Linked DNA regions of Homo sapiens: region 2 is linked to region 1. Evidence: promoter capture Hi-C in 16 types of primary human blood cells and fetal thymus (Javierre and others, 2016). All regions are on one chromosome and are shown on one strand. Each heading gives the region's core, a stretch centred on a gene start or on the middle of the fragment in contact. The rest is flanking DNA. Distances are from core to core; before and after follow the strand shown. Region 1 holds the start of SEMA5A (semaphorin 5A). Region 2 overlaps SEMA5A (semaphorin 5A).

Region 1 (6,114 bases), core at 907-3,406:
AGACAAGAAAATTATTTCAGTTATACATAACTTAATGGTATTATCTGCTTGAACTGAAGTTGTGTAAAGTGGTCATGATAAACATTACACTCTCTAAAATAATGAAACTGGCATTAATTAGCAACAAATTCAGCAATCCTAATTAGGTATTGAAAAATCTTTCTTATTAAAGCCTGGTTTTGTGTTTCTGTCTCCTTATGAACAGACTACCTCTATAATTAATAACATATCTGCTGATTCCAAACTCAGCCATTATGACAGAGCTCTTCTCGGTAAGCTAGACGTAAAACTTGTCTTTCTTCAAAACAAACCAGAACAATCATTTGTGACTCCTGATGTGTTAACTAAAGTACCCCTAAAAAGCAGAACGGTATTAAACAAAGCTCACGTTATCTTCCCTCAATTTCGATTTCTTTCTGAGTAAATGTAACAGTCACAAGGAAGGCAGATGCCCAGACAAGGAAGACTTTACAGCGATCTTTTTCTCTGGAAGAGACCTTTCTAGTTAGAGCATTTATGTCTGGCCACCACCTTTCCTGTCCCCTCTCCTAGCAAGGCTGACAGCTCTCTATAGCCACCAGATCAGCTCCCCCAACCCCCGGCCCCCAAAATGAAATTATTGCAAGATCTGCCTGGTTCTGCTGTTTGTTGCCTGGGACTCCCGCCCACTCGCCCAGGACCCAGCAACTGCCTGTGGCGCCTCGTCCTCCGAGCGCTCGCTCGCAGCGCCCCCTGCCGGGAATCCCGAGGACGCCGCAGGCGCAGGAAAGTTAAATCCCAACTCCGGCCGCGGCATCCTGGTACAAAGCAAGCAAAGGGCGAGGAGGTGAACGCGCTTCCCGCCAAAGCCAGGGGAACAGGGATGTGACCGCTCCAAGCCAGGCACCGGCCGCCGCGGGGAGCGAGCCGGGGGAATCACTCCTCCACGACCGTTCCCACGCACATCTTGGGAGAAACCATTCCCTCTGGAGCCCGATCTGCCCGAAACCCTGGGGTCTGAAACCCTGAGCCGCGGTGTGCAAAATCCGTGGAGCAGCGGAGGGATGCCTGGTGAAAGGGGCTCGCCTAGCTGCAGCGCACCTGGCTGGTGGTTCCCCAGGCCTCTGCATCCCCCGCCTTAGTGTCTTTCATTAACCAAGGCGCTTGGCGGAGTTGAGCCCAAGTCCCATTGCCTCCCGGTTCCCCTGTAAGGAAAGCAGGAAAACCTGCCCAAGCCGGTGGGGCTGCGAGGTGGCCGCTCCCGAACCGCCAAGTCCCGACCTCCGTGTCCCCTGCCCCCGGCTCGCGGCAGTGCGAGCCTGGAGGCGCGCCGGGGGCGGGCACAGACCAGTGTGCGCACCTTTCCGGGTGTTGGGCAGGGGTCCCGTCTCGCCCACCGCGACACTCCGGCTCCTTACCTCTCCATGCTCAGACCTCGGCACAGGCGGGTACACAAACTTCCAGCCCGTGCACTAGCTCAACTGTGGGCGCCCCCGGACTGACGGTCGTCCTAATCCTGTACGCGCAACCCCCGCCCAGGTGCCTGCTGATGGATCCCACCCGAGATCGGCACCACCCACCAGCCGACCGCTGCAGTCCCCGGGTCCCGGCCAGCGGCGCGGCGCGGCGCGGCGCGGTCAGGGGCTCCTGCCAAGGCCACGCAGGAATCGGGCGGGGGTCGCTCACCAGGTGCGAGGAGCGCTGGTGCCAGTCATCCAGCGCCTGGGGGCCAGAGCGGCTCCGAGGATCCTCTTCAGCACCTGGCTAGGGAAGTGGAGGCAGCAGCTGCAGCCGCCCCCTGCCACTTCCCCAGAGCCGCCCCCTACTCGCTGAGTTCCAGAATGGGGGCACCGGCTTGGGGGCCACGAGCACGGTCCCCGAGCGCGCGGCCAACCGGTGGGTGGGCAGGTTCGCGCCCAGCAGAGACGACCCTCGAGGTGGCAAAGTTGGGTGTCCAAGCCAGCTCCGCGGGGCAGTCCTGGGTGGGAGAAGGGAGCGTCCCGGGATGAGCGACACTGGCCGGGCCGCCCCTGCACGGGGAAGGTGGAGGGCCGGGGCTGCAGCGGGCCAAGGGCCGCGGCTGGCCTGAGGCTGCGAAGCCCACCCGCGGCGGGAAAGCAGCGCTCGGGAGCGGGCTCAGGGAGAGCAGCCGCCACCGGCGCCGCCTTCCCGGCAAGTAGATCGGCGCGGGGCGAGCGGGCGCGGAGAGCGCGGGGCGGAGAGCGCTGGGCGGGGAGCGGGGGACAGCCTGGGCCCACCCCCGCCCCGCCCCGCCCCTGCCCCGCCCCCGCCGCCGCGCCGCCTCCTCCTCCTCCTCCTCCCCGCCGGGGTGAAACTCGAGCGCCCCACCCGCGCCTGACCTCCCCGAGCCCCTCCCCGGGCCCCGCCCCTTCCCGGTACAGGACCCCCACCTTCGCTCCTGGGAGCCCCGCTGCACCCCAGGAGTTCCATTCCAGCCTCCCCAGTGCGAGTGCGGCCGAGCGCTGACTTTTGGGGGCTCCCTCCCCCGTCTCACTGGGTCCCTCTGCGGCTCCCCCGCCCGCTGTCCCGGTTCAGACGTGGCTGCACCCCGGAGGGGGGCGCCGGCCGAGACCTGAGACGTGGCGCTCCCTCTCTGCCGGCCTCGGCTTCAGGTACGTGCGGTTCCCTCGGCTAAATCTGGCCCGGGGGATGGGGGGCAGGGGCCGTCTGGTCCTCCGGAACTCGAACTTTGTGATTTTGTTCTTTCTGTGTGACATCCTCATCCGTTCTGAGGGAGAAACTCCTTAAAGAAGACGAGAGAGTCAGTCGTTGCGGGTTCTTGGAGGAGCACTTTGGGGGTGAGACTCCCGGCTAGTTCGGGTCGATTTCAGCGGGATTAAGTCAAGGAAATGAACAAATCTGACGAATCAGGGAGGCCAGAGAAGGCGTCCCCAGGTAGCCACGCTGAGCGTTAAGAGAGAAGTCCCGTATGGTCAAAGTCATTCGTCCAATTCTGTGTCAATTATTCCTTGTTGCACTTTTGCAGGATCCTTGGGCCTTACTAAGTACTCAGGTGAAAAGTTGATAATTGGGAAGCAAGTAAAGTACCTTTGAAGACGTGTATAATTGGACACTTTGTTGCAGTTCTTCAGTTTCTGGAGGAGGCGGTGGGGGGGGAGAGGGAGGGGGTCAGCCTCGCGAAAAGAGCAAATGGTAAAGTTATAGGAGTATAAGGCATAAAACTTGGGTTGGGAGTCCTGACTGGCCTTGAGTGGCCCTTTCCCACTGGATGGGGGTGCGGGACAGTATCTCTGGGCCCTTTTTACTCAGTCTGCGCCTCAGAGGGAGGCTTGAAGGTCCCCTGCATGAGGAAATGTGTGAATTGCCCCCTCCTGACCGCAGTGAGGTAGGGACCCCCGCAAGGACCCACGTTCACACCAGCGCCCTTCCAGCCAGTGGTGGGGTATGGATGGGCCTCGCTGGTCCTGGGCATGGTCCGGTGCGTCCATAAGGGTTCCATTGAGCTCATCCATAAAACAAAGAAGCTATTGCAGGCTGCAGGGTGTCATAGCTCGCACAGTAGCCATGCAGACCTAAGAGGACAATGGAAATACAAATTGCTATCGATGTGTCTTTATTTTCTAGAACTTTTTTTTAAAATAAAAGAATTAAGTGAAAGCAATTCCGAAGGTTTCTATGAAAGCCCAGCCCATCCCCAAATGCCCAGTCTCTGGCACGGGTGATCTGGCTGTCTTGGGTACTCAGGCCTTACTGGGATTTCCTTTAAGACCTCTGGGAGGAAGTGTCAGTAGCTGGGCAGGCCTTCTTGGCAAGCATTCCTCCCTGGGTTGTGGCGGGGGCTCCCGGCCTGCTGTGTGGCAGCTGCAGGCTCCTGGGGACCTGAAGGAAAAGCTTAACCGTTCTCCCTTCCCTTGCTTGGCACTTAGAGCACTAGTTCCATTCCAGACATTCCGATTATCTTGCCTACGTGGCACAGAGGCCTAGGAGCCTCCCTGGGAGGAAGAGGCAGGCCAAGGTCTTGCCTGGCTGCTTCTAGGGGGAAAGATGTAGGGAGGAAGCTGCCTTATGCTTGGATCTGCAGCCTTTGCCTGGACCTGTGGAGCCTACGTGGCCAGGGTGAGGGAGACAGAAATTAGAACCCAATGTATTCAGCTAATCCTCTTCTTGCCTCTGAACATTGCCGTTAATACTTGAAAAGAAAAAAAAAAAGCAAAAAAACTCTTGGCATATAGAGCTAAGCAGTGGGAAGAAGATAGCTTTCTAAACCATGACCCAATAGGTCTGATAACATAACATTTAACTGGATAAATTACATAATTTTGTATATATGTAGGGGGGAGTTGAATTCAGTTTTGCTGTTTACAGGCTGCACCAATGCATTGTTAAAAGATGTATATTTTAGTGATAATTGTGATTAATTACAAAATAATTGCTAATAAGCAGGTAAATAAACCAAATTATAATTTAGAGTGCATCCTTTGTTTAAAGTGAAATGGATCTAAATTGAGGATATAATTTTGAGTTTTAATCTGGGGAAAGTTCTTTAACTTTTCTGAGCTACAGTCTCTTCACCTGGAGCTTAGACACACCAGCCTGGCAGGGGTATGTCAGCTGTCTGCTTGAAAGGAGAAAGACAGTAATCTGTGTGAAATACTCACCGAGCACCCAACATATAAGCAGGCTCTTCATAAAGTCATTTTGAGGTATCCACAAGTATTTCTTTTTTCTAAACAAAATTTCTTTGTTTTTTGTTTGTTTTGCTTTGCAAAGGTCTTGCTTGCTAGAAAGCTATCTGCATTAAGCTGCTTCTCATCACATTATAAAACTAAGGATGATCATTTTTAAACAAACAAAAGTATTTAGTTATCTTTTCAAAGTAAAATATAGCTTTCCCTAAACTGTTTTAGGTGAGCCATGCACACAATGTGAAAGAATGAAGAAACCAACAAAACACTTGGTGAAAATGATGAATTCTGGGGCGCTGATTCATGTGACTTGAAAAATGCCATCCATTTCCTGATTCACCTCAATTCTGTTCGGAACTATGAAAGATCATTTATGTTTCTGCACTAATTGACCAATTTTGTCTTGTCTTTACTTCCCTCCCTAGTGCTTGAATTTCAGCCACATCCCTAAGCTGCCATCTCAGACCAGAGGAACAGGGAGGGGGGCTTTCTGGAAAGAACATCACCTGGAAGAAATCAGGACATGACTGTGGGCCATGAGTGACCTTCAAAGGAAAGCCGGGTATCTGTGGTCTTTAAGATGTGGTAAGATTGTATTAAAATTATAGAAAAAAACCTCAATCCAGAAATCGTGGCCTCTTGACATTTACATCTTAACTGCATTTTCCTACCAATGAGATGCATTACAATCATCCTCCATAAGTGTTCTCTTTTTACCCCTGTTTCCATTCTTTTAGATCCATGACATTTAAAAACTGAAGAAATGGAAAGATCATCTGATCAGGCCCATCAGTCTTTTTCCTAATGCTAAACATTGGTACAAAGACGTGAAGTTTGATGTCTCACTAAGATTGCCTAGGGCTGCTTTATTGCTCACCTACTTCAAAGTATTGGGAAAACATGATTATGGGTACAGGTGATGCTGTGTTGCCCCCAGACAGGTTTCTTTTGTCAGGTTCTTTTGATGGATTAGGAACCTACAAGTGGGGAGATTTTAGGGAAATAGCCCCTCCACTTGGATTTCACCAAAACGTCTTTAGGGTTCTCTTACCCCAAGAAACACGCATTCCTCTTTAGTGTGGCAGCCCACTCTATTGGCAAAGTTAAGCAGACCAGTTTTACTAAAAAGGAGCCACCCAGAAACTTAGACAGAAAATACTTGAGGCACAGATGAGAATGAGCACAAATGTGCATAGCAAGTGCAGTTTCCTGGCCCTTAAACTGAAGGGCCAGGTCAGTCTGCTCCTCCAGGCACAGCCTGGGACCCCATCATGTGCCCCACTCTGCAGTCTGAGCTTCCACTCAAGTCCACCAGGGCCTGCCTCACATATATATACAAGACCCAATGTCAGAGTCTGCCTCTGCCCATGTCTGGTCAGAGGGTTGCACTTTGCCACTGCTACATGTTCCCAGAGGTTGGCACAGCATGACCTGGACCTCACCTAACCCAGGCAAACTCTGCTCATCT
Region 2 (6,114 bases), core at 2,710-5,209, 190 kb before region 1:
ACATAAAGATGTCATTTAATACGGTGCTAGAGGTGACATCGAGGTGAGGAACGACAGAAGGAGAAGAAAATGGCCACTCATTACTGAGAGTTGGAAGAAAGATGTGTGGAGTGTTCTGCATTAGAACAAATGAATGCATGCAGAAATGAATGAATAAAGCCCACATCCCTGCATTAGGAGGGTCATCTTATTCCTCTCTATCTACAACCTCTATAGTTCACTGTAGAATTTCAGAGCGATGGCTATGACGATTTTGATCTTAGAATCAATTTGATTATTTAACGCCATCCCTGATACATAACCCATTTATCTTCATACAGGCTTTTAAGGACTTCCCAATTGGATTCTGTTTCTACTGACATCCATATAAATTGGAACCTGCTCCTTCCCTTCAATTCTTTCCCCAGAAGTGAGAGCTGATAGCCCCAGGTAAGTCCCCAGCCCCCACTGAAGACGCATTTCTTCTCTGAGGGTTACCTTGAGAGACAGAGGCTCTGTTGGTTATGATTAGATGGTTTACTAACATAATTGTGAACATAATTTGTTCTGATCTGCTTCTGCCTTCCAGTCAACCCACGTTCCGTATATTAGAAGAAGAAAGGGTTGGTGTGTGTGCATGTGCGTGCACACACACAAGTGAAGAGTGTTTAGTTCTGCCTGTCTGTGCCTCAGGGAATGGAATGTAACAGATGTTACAGTAACACACATTTTTTGCTTTAAGAAAAGGATGAAGGAGGTGGAGTGGGCCAACTTGTAGACACTTTGGATTCCAAATCAAACCAGAAAAAAAAGAAAAGGCTGCACACAGTTAGAAGAAAGTGCAAGCGGAAAAGAACCCCCACCAAGTTCAAAGGGACTTGTGTTTAATCAGACAAAAACAATTTTTATAGCCTCGGGAGCCCGTGTGGTGTGTGAGGAAGTTGTGCAGCAGGATGGCATTAGGCACTCAAGCCAGCATGCTTTTGTGTTATTTTCTTCTTTCTTTGTTTGCAACCGGGGTTCAAAGAAATTCACTGTGCAAAACAGATACTGAAGTAGATCATACCCACGAATTAACATTGTCATGACAAGCAGCTCTGTGTTATGAGCAAAATTACAAGTGACCCATCAAATAAAGCAGTTATTGTCTAAGTAAGAGCTCCTTTCTTCCAGGATTCCACCGTGTTGCTAGCTTTGTCTCTTCCACTGAAACGCTCATGCACCTGATATGAACTCCAAGCAGCCTCCTGAACATATTCAGTGAGCCTGACTTCAAGAGAAAGCCCCGAACGATGAGGAATTACCAGCTTGCAAGACATAGAGAACCCATTCCTTCTGAAAAATCATTTTCCTTCCTGAGCCCATTCACACAGGGCTTTGACTGTTTCCTACCTGAAGGTCACATGCATGGCCAAATCTCCATCTCATTAATTACAACTCTTGGCAAGCCATTAAAAATCTCATTTCATTTTACCATCCAACCTCCTTTTAACTGACTTTTCATAATTATAATTCTATTTTTGATATACTGGACCTATTAAATTTAATGCCATACAGAGATTTTAGAACTCCTTAAAAAAAGACTCAAATTGGACTGTGTCCACCAAAGGATGTGTAGTCCTTGCTTAGGAATATGAAAGGGGAAAACTGCAGTGCATTCTATTTTCATCCACAGAGGAAGAAAAGTCAAGCTAATTGCATATGGTCAGTATAATAATGCTGTCATTCTAGAAGGGCTATAATTAGCGAGAATTGTTTTCACAAACAACCGACCAAGCCCATGACTCCAGCTTGCATTAGTTCTTTTTTCCCCACCAGTTATAAACATTTCTATTTTTGCTCCTCCCCAAACATAAACATTACTCCATTAAAAATACCCAGGGAGAGGAGATCCTGACAGTATAACTGCAAACTCTGGGAATAGACATAAGCCTTTTTGCAAATGTTGAGTCTGTTAAAAGGATTAGAGTGCCAAGAGAGGGTTGGAGGAACTATTATCCAACAAGCTAAACTTTACCTGGTAACATCAAGGCGGGAAGCCCCAGGTGAGGCACCTCTCCTGGACAGAGAGGAGTGAGCACTCCAAAGCCCCATGTGAAGATGAGGGGCCATTGGGATCTTTCACATCTGAAGATATATAAGGCAAAACTTACTTAGCTCCACGTCATGTCGTACAGTATGGATGAATAACTATGGACAAAATTCTCTCTCACTTTAAACTACAGTTATTTAACAAACATTATTTGGACAGGAATTATGATCAGTGCATTTTCCAGTGCTGAAATTCAACTAAGAAACAGGGATTGTTGAATTTTGTCACACTAGACTGAGACAGTGGATCATCTGGAGTATCTAGCACTGATTCTCTCCCCAACATATGTTCAGAGTCCTGTTGCTCCAGCTTCTATAACACACTTTCTTCTGTCCCCACTGCTTTTTGTTTGGACCCTCCATACCTCTCATTCCATCACTGGTTGTCCACCTATGCCAAGTCTGTTCCTTGGTGCCTGGGCGCTCCAGTCAGCATCTCTAACATGAAACCTCAATAAGACCAAAGCCACTAAGAACCACACTGGCTCCATTTTACCTTCAAACCCATTTTCAGTGCTGTCCCTTGTGCAATTTTGGTTCTAACTGTAGTGAGTGCTTTTGGTCCAGGGACCACCCAGAGCTCCCTTGACTTCCCTTTCCTTACCTGGTGGTCTGACGCCTGTCGTTCTGACTCCAGCTGGGATGACAGCTGCCACAGAACCTCTCTGTGCATCTCCTTCAACAAGAGGAAGGGTCTTCCCTGTGCACACAGTGTCCAGACCTTGCCTCTCAGGTCCTATGCTGCAGCGTTCAATTTGTCTATTGACACATCCATCTTTCCACTAAATGGCAGGTGCGCTGCTATGTCCTACACTCCCAGTGCCTAATGCAAAGGCTGCCCTGATGCAGGCACTTGATAAAGATGTGATTCAATGAATGAATGGATGTGGGTTCAAAGAGTGGCTGAATGAATAAATGTCAAACACATTGATGAATGAATGAACATAAGTCATTCAGTGCACCCTCTATGTTGAAAGAAACGAAGCTGGAAAATAAGACAAAGCTTGGGATGCTAGGAGAGAGTTCTTTGAACTACATTTGGAGCATACCTGTCCTCTATGCTATGACAAATATGCCTGGAATCTAGAAAAGGAGGCTCTAGGTTGAGGCATTGAGGTACATGATGAGATAATTTTCTCTCAAAATTTTTTGATTCAAGGAGCAAAGCACTGGTTCAGACCCTCTTGCAAAGACAGTAGGATGTGGGGCTATGGAAAAACTCAAAGTGAAAAAGGTGAGCACATACATGTTAATTAGGGCTCAGTCCATTTCCTCTCCTAGACAGGCCCCCAGATCCTCAGCAGCAGCACCCAAACCAGACACATACACACTCACGGACACACACACAAAGCAGGAATACCACAGTAGCAGCTCCTCCCCCCACCAGCTAGAGGCTGCAGAATATGAGAACCTGGCCTTTGCAGTGTAACAGGCCAGGAATCTAGCCTCTGCTCTGTTCCATAAGCACCATGGGTTCATGGACTAGTTAATTAAATTCCTTAGTTTTTTTCCTCAGCTACATAAAAGGGGAAAAATAGTCACTTTATACAATTTTATAAAGACTGAATGGCATACTGTATGTAAGGCACTCAGTAAGCATTTGTTGTTGGATTGCTATTGTGAGGCATTGTTGAACTTGACATTGCTATGCTCAGCTTGGCTTGGTGTTTATCCAGTAGATTCCCTTTATAACATAATGGCCAGAATAAAGGAATGGCCAGAGAAGGAATTTCCTAGCATAACCAGACTGAAGCTGAGTTGATGATAGGTTAGACATCTATGGAATCTGAAATGAGTCAGTCCTTCCTTTCCTGAAGGTCATGATGTAACTTTTGCACCTATAATAACTATTCCCCTACAGCTGATTTTGCTGGTTTTTAAGTCAAAATTTAACCAATTCCAATTAATTCCGTCTTTATATTTGCCACCACTCCATGTTGGCTTGTTAGGCAATTAAGTATTCAAATTAGAGTAACTCTCAAATATTTCCTTGCAGAGGAAAAACAAAGAAACAAAAAACTATGAAAAAAATTACCCTTTAAAGGCAAAATGTCCATCCAGTTTTGAAGATTAAGAACCACTGGGGCAGAAGAGGGAGAATGACCTAGAATTCAGAACTGCAATGATAAAATTATTCCTTTGACAACACTAGGTGGCTGATTCTCCTAAGGTTGTCTAATAGATTTAAAAATTTTTGCTATCCTTGTTTTATGGAAATATAATGAGAAATATAGACATGGTTTTGTTTAGTTTTTAAATTCAAGATAAACAAGAATTTCAACTGTGACATTATCTCTCAGCAATAGCCTTTGAATCTCTTGTGTTGTTCAATGAACTACTCACTAGATGAACCACTGGCCTTTGCAGGTATTAACCTCTGCAGTAGGTCATCCTACTTCATCTGTACTGTTAGTAAATTAATCAAAAGCTAGCATCAGGTATGCACACACCTGCAGAGATAATGTGTACAGTGTTCTCCAGAGGGATGGGATTTGATTCTGTAGGTGACACTGATGGAATACAGCAGTCAGGGTCTTAAGAAATTGGATAGATTAAATATATCACAAAAGAGACATTTTAATAGTCTAAAAATCAGTAAAGGTGTTTTTCAAAATACATATAATTGAGAAAATATACACTACCCTAAAGAGAGAGTAGATTATGAGATAGAGATGCAGGAAAGAACTATCTCAATTGTGTCCCCCAAAGCAAATAAATTTTTATTAAGTCCAGTACCTTGCTTTTTAAAACAACACGATAGCTTACAAAAGAAATGAAGCTTTAGTACACACTCTTGGAAATACCTTTTCAGATGATGGTGAAAATAATAAAACTGCAATGAAAATAATGACACCCATAATAGGACACACTGGGTGCATACAATATTCTCGGCACTAGGCTGAGCAACACAGTGGGTATTTTACATACACATTCCTGAATCCTTGAAAAATCCATGAAGCCATGTATTAGTACTTACATTATTCATGCAAGAAAACTAGAACTCTAAGGAAAAGCAAGAAACACAAACGATTCTTTTCATTTTATAATTTTCTTTATCAGTCTGTGATTTATCTTTTGAATGCCTGATTTTCTATCTTCTTCATCCTAGGGGAGAGAGTATTAAGTTCTTTAACAGCAAAGGATTAAAAACATAGTCATTCTCTCCACCAAGATCTATAAAGTATTTTTTAGGGGCATAACAATAAATAAGACAGAAATCTTGCCCTTTAAAAACTCAAGTCTGGCCAGGCGCAGTGGCACATGCCTGATATCCCAGCACTTTGGGAGGCCGAGGCAGGCAGACCACCTGAGGTCAAGAGTTCGAGACCAGCCTGGCCAACATGGTAAAACGCTGTCTCTACTAAAAATACGAAAATTAGCCGGGCAAGTTGGTGGGCGCCTGTAATCCCAGCTACTCGGGAGGCTGTGGCACGAGAATCACTTGAACCCAGGAGGCAGAGGTTGCAGTGAGGCAAGATCATGCCACTGCACTCCAGCCTGGGCAACAAAGCGAGACTCTGTCTCAAAAAAAAAAAAAAAATTGCAAACAACAACAACAACAAAAACTCAATTCTATGCAGCATCACATACTTTCTTCCTTAAAAATAAGACAAAGACATGGTTCTGTTATACAGAAAGGAGGGAAAGTGATGAAAATTATACCAGCATTACCGCCATTTTTTCTGTGAGGTAGGACTGAGTCACATATATTTTTATATGTTGTGAGTTCTAGATAAATACTTAATAAATGTCTTACTCTGGGTTTAAATGTGAGTTAATCTGTTCCTCCCTATGCATCACCTTCTAAGAGATTTCCTCAGCATTTTCATCCACCTCATAATGCTCTTTCTCACTACGTCTATACTCTGTCTCATCCACATCATGATCTTTTGCTCTGACCATATTGATGCTACTAGGTTGGTGCAAAAGTAATTGCTCTTTACCTATGTATCTCTTTAAACACTTTCAAGTCTGTTGGGAGTTGGTCTATTTTGCGGATCTAGGGTCCAAATTCTGTCACTGATTGTTCTGCTGATGCGCTTA

What was found. Contacts are between HindIII fragments. The CHiCAGO score rates a contact against its expected background, and 5 or more counts as called.
Region 2: a contact is called between a fragment that was not itself captured here and the fragment with the promoter of SEMA5A in region 1, in 2 of 17 cell types (M1 macrophages and M0 macrophages). The highest score is 6.2, in M1 macrophages.

What each region holds. Positions count from the first base shown.
Region 1 is chr5:9,543,919-9,550,032 of GRCh38, forward strand. SEMA5A (semaphorin 5A) reads right to left here and starts at 2,157. Exons shown (of 23, transcript NM_003966.3): 1 at 1,666-2,157. It overlaps SNHG18 (small nucleolar RNA host gene 18), which reads left to right and starts at 2,282. Exons shown (of 3, transcript NR_045196.2): 1 at 2,282-2,612; 2 at 5,072-5,231; 3 at 5,384-6,114. It overlaps SNORD123 (small nucleolar RNA, C/D box 123), which reads left to right and starts at 4,909; the gene lies at 4,909-4,996. RefSeq lists a silencer at 2,091-2,280. The HindIII fragment of the contact is 4,033 bases long and covers 1-3,850 here.
Region 2 is chr5:9,355,704-9,361,817 of GRCh38, forward strand. All of the region lies in intron 3 of SEMA5A (semaphorin 5A), which reads right to left. Among named protein-coding and RNA genes, the nearest start is that of SEMA5A-AS1, 150 kb to the right of the region's middle. The HindIII fragment of the contact is 1,776 bases long and covers 3,072-4,847 here.